Regions from separate parts of the Homo sapiens genome. Here region 1 is linked to region 2. The links are contacts of gene promoters, found by promoter capture Hi-C in human tissues and cell types (Jung and others, 2019). All regions are on one chromosome and are shown on one strand. Each heading gives the region's core, a stretch centred on a gene start or on the middle of the fragment in contact. The rest is flanking DNA. Distances are from core to core; before and after follow the strand shown.

What was found. The method cuts DNA at HindIII sites, captures the fragments that hold promoters and counts their contacts. A contact is called where the count stands out against the background at its distance.
Region 1: a fragment that was not itself captured here is called in contact with the fragment with the promoter of DNAH3 in region 2 in 1 of the 25 tissues and cell types used here (stomach).

Annotation. Positions count from the first base shown.
Region 1 is chr16:21,529,002-21,533,010 of GRCh38, forward strand. It overlaps the pseudogene LOC646828. Among named protein-coding and RNA genes, the nearest start is that of MIR3680-1, 25 kb to the left of the region's middle. The HindIII fragment of the contact is 9,736 bases long and covers 1-4,009 here.
Region 2 is chr16:21,149,489-21,153,453 of GRCh38, forward strand. It overlaps DNAH3 (dynein axonemal heavy chain 3), which reads right to left and starts at 1,358. Exons shown (of 62, transcript NM_001347886.2): 1 at 1,263-1,358; 2 at 802-1,046. The coding sequence starts at 831. RefSeq lists an enhancer at 3,520-3,814. The HindIII fragment of the contact is 16,051 bases long and covers 1-3,965 here.

The sequences.
Region 1 (4,009 bases), core at 322-2,821, 380 kb after region 2:
TTCTCCTGCCTCAGCCTCCCAAGTAGCTGGGATTACAGGTGCCTGCCACCATGCCCGACTAATTTTTTGCGTTTTTTTTTTTTTTTTAGTAGAGACGGGGCTTCACCATGTTGCCCAGGCTGGTCTTGAACTCCTGACCTCAGGTGATCTGCCCACCTCAGCCTCCCAAAGTGCGGGGATTACAGGCGTGAGCCACCGCGCCTGACCTAACCTACTTATTCTTTATCTCCCCGGAATGAAACGGCTTTTATCACCTTGGGAAACAGATTAGCATCTGCTTATTTTTCTGTGCTTATCTGACTGTAAGGTGACATTGGAAGATAATTTAATTAGGTTGATTGTAAAACTTTCTCTCTTCTGGGAGGAATATTTTTTAATGCTATGAAAATAAAAATACTGGGCCAGGCACGGTGGCTCATGCCTGTAATCCCAGAACTTTGGGAGGCCAAGGTAGGCAGATCACCTGAGGTCAGGAGTTCGAGACCAGCCTGACCAACATGGTGAAACCAAATCTCTACTAAAAATGCAAAAAAAAAAAAAAAAAAAAAATAGGCTGGGCGCAGTGGCTTGCGTCTGTAATCCCAGTACTTTGGGAGGCTGAGGCGGGCGGATCACCTGAGGTTGAGAGTTCAAGACCAGCCTGACCAACATGGAGAAACCCCATCTCTAGTAAAAATACAAAATTAGCCAGGCGTGGTGGCCCATGCCTGTAATCTCAGCTAATTGGGAGGCTGAGGCAGGAGAATTGCTTGAACCTGGGAGGCAGAGGTTGTGGTGAACCAAGATGGCATCAATGCACTCCAGCCTAGGCGACAAGAGCAAAACTCTGTCTCAAAGAAAAAAAAAAAATTTGCTGGGCATGGTGGCGGGTGCCTGTAATCCCCGCTACTCGGGAGGCTGAGGCAGGAGAATTGCTTGAACCCGGGAGGCAGAGGTTGCAGTGAGCTGAGATCATGACATTGCACTCCAGCCTGGGTGACAGAGCGACACTCCATCTAAAAAAAAGGAAAAGAAAAACACTGTACTGATTTTGGATTTTTTCCAAGCAAGTAATAGGTAAAAAGAAACCCAAACTGGCTTACATGAAAGGGCACCTATTGGCTTGTGTAACTGATCAGGTGCAACCATTGCTATAAGCTTGATCCAGACCCGACGCGGTGACTCATGCCAGTAATCTCAGCACTTTGGGAGGACGAGGCAGGCGGATCGCCTGAGGTCGGGAGATCGAGACCAGCCTGACCAACATGGAGAAACCCCGTCTCTGCTAAAAATACAAAATTAGCCAGGCACAGTGGTGTACGCCTGTAATCCCAGCTACTTGTGAGGCTGAGGCAGGAGAATCACCTGAACCCGGGAGGTGGAGGTTGCAGTGAGCCAAGATTGCGCCACTGCACTCCAGCCTGGGTGACAAAGCAAGACTCCATCTCAAAAACAAAACAAAACAAAAAACAACAAAAAAAAAGAGGGTGAAAGGCAGCCCCAGAGTGGGAGAAGAGATTTGTAAAATGGACAAAGGCCTTATAATTGGAATATATAAAGAACTCCTAAAAATCACTAAGAAAACCACAGACAGCCCAAGAGAAAAATGGGCAAATGGCTCAAGTAGGTATCTGGTGAAAGAGGATATGCAGATGGCCAATGAATCTGCACAAAGTGCTCCACATCATTAATCATTAGGGAAGTGCAAATTAAATCCACAGGAGACACCTGGGCACACCCTCCAGAAAGCACACAATGACCTGCTGGCAAGGACAGGAACGACCACTTTGGAAAACTCTTTGGCAGCACAGCCAAACTGAGCCTTTCCACTCGAAAATGCCCTTTGCTCAGAACCCAGCAGCAGCTCCAAAGTCTCCACCCAGCCTATGGGGCCCCAGTACCCACCCTTGCCTCCCATGCCTCTCTCCTCACCCCTGCACTTGGCTGCCCTCACCCTCGGGCTGCACCTTGAACACCAGAAGGGTGCTCCTGCCTCCAGCCTCTGCCTGGAATTCTCTGCCCTCGGGTAGCCATGTGGTTCACTCCTCCTTTGGTCTCTGCCCAAATGGCCCCTGTAGAAGAGACCTCCCCACCCAGCCATGTCCTCTCCCTGTGACTTACCACCCCAGACTTTCTGTGTTGATGCATCATGGTCTACCTCCTTCCATCAGAACGTGAGCTCCGAGGCAAAGGCTCTTCAGACCTGAAACAGTCTAGGCTCTGTCCCCAGAGTCTAGAATAGAGCCTGCCACGTAATTGGCACTCAATAAATGTTACATGAATTAATGGAAACCATCCTGGCACAAGTGGTAGCTCTCTTTCCACAAAAAGAATGAGCTTGCCAAGAGAGAGACAACATCACGAAAGAGAGACAGAAAAGCCACACTCAGACCCAACATTGAGTTCTGGATCAAGTCTTTTTTTTTTTTTTTTTTTTTTTGAGACAAAGTTTTGCTCTTGTTTCCCAGGCTGGAATGCAATGGCGCGATCTCGGCTCACTACAACCTCTGCCTCGCGGGTTCAAGCAATTCTCCTGCCTCAGCCTCCCGAGTAGCTGGGATTACAGGCATGCACCACCAAGCTCGGCTAATTTTGTATTTTTAGTAGAGATGGGGTTTCTCCATGTTGGTCAGGCTAGTCTGGAACTTGGCCTCCCAAAGTGCTGGGTTTACAGGCGTGAGCCACAGCGCCTGGCTCCTATGTTATTTTTTAGGAGCTTTATTGTTTTACCTTTCCTATTTAGATCTATAGTCTGTCAGGAATTAATTTTTGTGTGTGCTGTGAGGTAGGGGTGTGAGGTATGGTGAGAAAAAAGATTCATGGTTCCCCATTTGGATATCCCGTTGGCTCGGTGGGGTGGCTCATGCCTGTAATCCCAGCACTTTGGGAGGTCAAAGCAGGAGAACTATTGGAGCTCAGGGGTTCAGGACCAACCTGGGCAACATAGTGAGACCCTGTGGATCGACAGATGAATTGATCGATCAATCAATACATAGATAGATAAGTATCCAAATGATCCAAAACTATTCACAGAAAAGCCCATCCATTCCCTACAGCATGACTCAGGGATCACAAATGTGTGGAACCTTCTAGACATGCTATTCTTTTTCATTGGTTGATTTGTCCTTCTCTGACAGGTACCACATTATCTTAATTAATATAGCTTTTTATTTTTATTTATTTATTTATTTTATATGGAGTCTCGCTCTGTCGCCCAGGCTGGAGTGCAGTGGCATGATCTCAGCTCACTGCAAGTTCTGCCTCCCAGATTCAAGCGATTCTCCTGCCTCAGTCTCCTGAGTAGCTGGGATTACAGGCATGAGCCACCGCACCTAGCTAATTTTTGTATTTTTAGCAGAGACAGGGTTTCGCCATGTTGGCCAGGCTGGTGTCGAACTTCTGACCTCAGGTGATCTTCCCACCTCGGCCTCCCAAAGTGCTGGGATTACAGGCATGAGCCACTGCGCCTGGCCTACTATAGCTTTTGAAATAGGTCTTGACATCAAATTGTGTATGTTTTCTGGTTTTATCCTGCCAGATTACTTTTGGTTGTATTTTTGGTAGAGACGGAGTTTCACCATGTTGGCCAGGCTGGTCTCAAACTTCTGACCTCAAGTGATCCACCTGCCTCAGCCTCCCAAAGTGCTGGGATTACAGGCGTGAACCACTGTGCCTGGCCTCACAAGAATTCCTTTTTATTTTGAGACGGAGTTTTGCTCTTGTTGCCCAGGCTGGAGTGCAATAGTGCAATCTTGGCTCACTGCAACCTCTGCCTCCCGGGTTCAAGCAATTCTCCTGCCTCAGCCTCCCAAGTAGCTGGGATTACAGGCACGCACCCAGCTAATGTTTGTGTTTTTTATAGAGACAGGTTTTCACCGTGTTGGCCAGGATGGTCTCGATCTCCTGGGTAACAACGCTTCCTTCCTTCAAAGTCAGTTCTGCTATTCATGTGGACCTAATGTCTCTAGGATCTTGTGCCCTCATTAGTGGCCTGGAAGGACGCCCAGACCTTCCAGTTCATCAGGGGTTG
Region 2 (3,965 bases), core at 108-2,607:
TTACACATGTTGTATGTATGTTCTTCATGGAGGCCATTCCCAAATGCTCGTCTGAGGACGTGCTACACCAGAATCACTCTGGTCTTAGATAAAAATATAGATTCCAGGGCCCCACTCCAAATCTTCTGGATCGGAATCTAGGAGTGGGGGACCAAGACTCTATGTTTTTAAGATGCTCCCCAGAATATTCTAATGTTCAGCCACAGTCAAAAACTGATGGTTGGAATATATGGTCTAATGGGCTTGGAAGGGAAGGAAAGGGAAGAACGGGTGTCTATTCCCGGATTTTTCACAGCAAAACTTGAAGATTTCCAAAAGTCTAATTCAGCAAAAATGATATTTCAAAGCAGACAACAAAAAAATGTGATGAATACACTTGTTCAGTCAAGGGCATCTAACATGCCAATTGGCCCTCTTCCCACATATTCCCAACACATTAAAAATACAGGTAAATCGGCCAGACACGGTGGCTCACACCTGTAATCCCAGCACTTTGGGAGGCTGAGGCAGGCGGATCTCCTGAGATCGGGAGTTCAAGACCAGCCTGACCAACATGGATAAACCCTGTCTCCACTAAAAATACAAAATTAGCCAGGTGTGGTGGCACATGCCTGTAATCCCAGCTACTCAGGAGGCTGAGGCAGGAGAATCACTTGAACCCAGGAGGCGGAGGTTGCAGTGAGCCGAGATCACACCATTGCACTCCAGCCTGGGCAACAAAGAGCAAAACTCTGTCTCAAAATAAAAAATAAAAAAAAAAAATACAGGTAAAACAAGAAACGTCTTAAAATTCACACCTACCTTCTGAGATGAGCAATCCATGTCACCCATGGTGTCCACTCTAATTGTAGCTATTTTTTTAAAATGAATAAAGAGCTTTCAGCTTCTCCAGGGATGTGCCTCTCCTATCCAGTTGGTCTGAAATTCACACTTCCTTATAGCATAATGGGGATGACACCAACAATGGAACTTTCCAGATGTTCTGAAAGCTCTGTTCATGAGGTTGCCTCTCTGAGGTCATAGACTTTGGCCCGCTGAGGAGTTCCCTGGTAAAAAAGGAGAGAAAGGGAAGCTAGAGATAAGGGGACAGCACTGGGTTTCTGCTGCGCTTTTGGCTCTGGTTCCTAGTCCCCCAGCGGTGGCCACGCTTCCTTTCCCTTGAGTGCTTCTCTCTTGGAAATTTTCCAGAAACACACTGAGTTCACTGCAGAGGAAAGACTGAAGCAGAGTTACACATTAATACAGAGAAGAGGGAGACTCACCCCTCCAAACAACATCCTGGCAGCCCGAACTGTTCTCCCTCCTCCTCCCTGGACTCTTAACACTGGCAGTGCTTGTATGCAGGCGCTGGGCACAGTAACCATGTCTCAGCGTCTGTTGCTAAGGGAAGGAGGGGCCTCTGCGGTGCCTACATACAAGACTGGGCATGACCTAGCTCTGTGAGCTGGTGTCTCCCTTTGCTGGAGGCCCAGGTGGGCAGCAGGAAGTGTTGGTGACAGAAGGGAACATGGGAAGGTGTTTAGCAATGTTCCAGGAATAACAGAGGCAACAGCAATAAAAGACCTTTGGAGACGTCGAAAAGCACAGAGTATGGTGGTTAAGTTCTTGGGATCTACAATTGGACAGGTCATACTTCAGATCCTACTCTTCTCATTAATTAGCTGTGTGGCTTGGCAAGTTGTTTAATCTCTCCAAGTGTCCTTTCCGTCTGTAAAATGGCAATAATGTGAGTCCCTACTTCATAGGGTTGCTTTGAAGGGTTAACGGGATAACGTGTACAGAGCGATTTGCATATAGTAGAAGGATAACTGATATTTTCCCAGTTTTTCCCCGTTTTTTTTTTTTTTTTTGAGACAGAGTCTTGCTCTGTTGCCCAGGCTGCAGTGCAGTGGCGTGATCTCAGCTCACTGCAAGCTCTGCCTCCCGGGTTCACACCATTCTCCTGCCTCAGCCTCCCACCAGTGCGCCCAGCTAATTTTTTGTATTTTTAGTAGAGACGGGGTTTCACCGTGTTAGCCAGGATGGTCTCAATCTCCTGACCTCGTGATCCGCCCACCTCGGCCTCCCAAAGTGTGGGATTACAGGTGTGAGCCACTGCGCCCAGCCCAGTTTTTCCCCATTTTAACACTAAGTCCTGCATCCTGGGAGCAATCTCAGTCCTGGGCAAACTGGGATAGTTTGATCACCCAACACAGTCAATGCTCTATAAATGTTGTGGCTAACATCAATATTACGATAAACACAGAAATACATGTGCACATACTCAAAAGTAACAATATTAGCTGCCGCCCGAATATTAAAAGCACATGTTCCATGGTCACTGTGAAGTTCTCTCAAAACCAAGTTAGACTTAATGAGTTTTTTGGGGGTGCCATGCTTGCATATCTTTTTTTTTCATTCAATTTCCCCCCAAACACCACGATATTCCCATTTTAAGGATAAGGAATCAAAACTGAGAGATATGGGCCAGGTATGGTGGTTCATGCCTGTAATCCCAGCACTCTGAAAGGCTGAGGTGGATGGATCACTTGAGGTCAGGAGTTTGAGACCAGCTTGGCCAACATAGTGAAACCCCATCTCTACTAAAAATACAAAATTAGCCGGGCATGGTGGTAGTCGCCTGTAATCCCAGCTACTTGGGGGGCTGAGGCAGGAGAATCGCTTGAACCTGGGAGGGAGGTTGCAGTGAGCACAGATCATGCCACTGCACCCCAGCCTGGGCAACAAGAGCGAAACTCCATCTCAAAAAAAAAGAAAAACAAACAAAAAAACTGAGAGATACATAACTTTCCTAAGTCGACTTGACTCATAAGTAGCACTGATACAATTGGAACCTGTCCTGATGACCCCGAGTCCACTGCTCTTTCCATAACCTACCTGTCCAGAACACAAACATTCCCGAGTTCCTATGAAAAGCATTGCATAGTGAGAGGTGACAGCGTGCTGGCAGTCCTCACAGCCCTCGCTCGCTCTCGGCGCCTCCTCTGCCTGGGCTCCCACTTTGGCGGCACTTGAGGAGCCCTTCAGCCCACCGCTGCACTGTGAGAGCTCCTTTCTGGGCTGGGCAAGGCCGAAGCCGGCTCCCTCAGCTTGCAGGCAGGTGTGGAGGGAGAGGCGCGAGCGGGAACCCGGGCTGCGCACGGCGCTTGCGGGCCAGCTGGAGTTCCGGGTGGGCGTGGGCTTGGCGGGCCCCGCACTGGGAGCAGCCAGCTGGCCCTGCCGGCCCCGGGCAATGAGGGGCTTAGCACCCCGGCCAGCGGCTGCGGAGGGTGTACTGGGTCCCCCAGCAGTGCTAGCCCACCGGCGCTGCGCTCCATTTCTCACCGGGCCTTAGCTGCCTTCCCGCGGGGCAGGGCTCGGGACTTGCAGCCCGCCATGCCTGAGCCTCCCACCCCCTCCGTGGGCTCCTGTGCTGCCCGAGCCTCCCCGACGAGCGCCACCCCCTGCTCCACGGCGCCCAGTCCCACCGACCACCCAAGGGCTGAGGAGTGCGGGCCCACGGCGCGGGACTGGCAGGCAGCTCCACCTGCAGCCCCGGTGCAGGAGCCACTGGGTGAAGCCAGCTGGGCTCCTGAGTCTGATGGGGACGTGGAGAACCTTTATGGCTAGCTCAGGGATTGTAAATACACCAATCAGCACCCTGAGTCTAACTCAGGGTTTGTGAATGCACCAATCGACACTCTGTATCTAGCTGCTCTGGTGGGACCTTGGAGAACCTTTATGTCTAGCTTGGGGATTGTAAATACACCAATCAGCACTCTGTATCTAGCTCAAGGTTTGTAAACACACCAATCAGCACCCTGTGTCTAGCTCAGGGTCTGTGAATGCACCAATCCACACTCTGTATCTAGCTATTCTGGTGGGGCCTTGGAGAACCTTTGTGTGGACACTCTGTGTCTAGCTAATCTGGTGGGGACTTGGAGAACCTTTGTGTCTAGCTCAGGGATTGTAAACGCACCAATCAG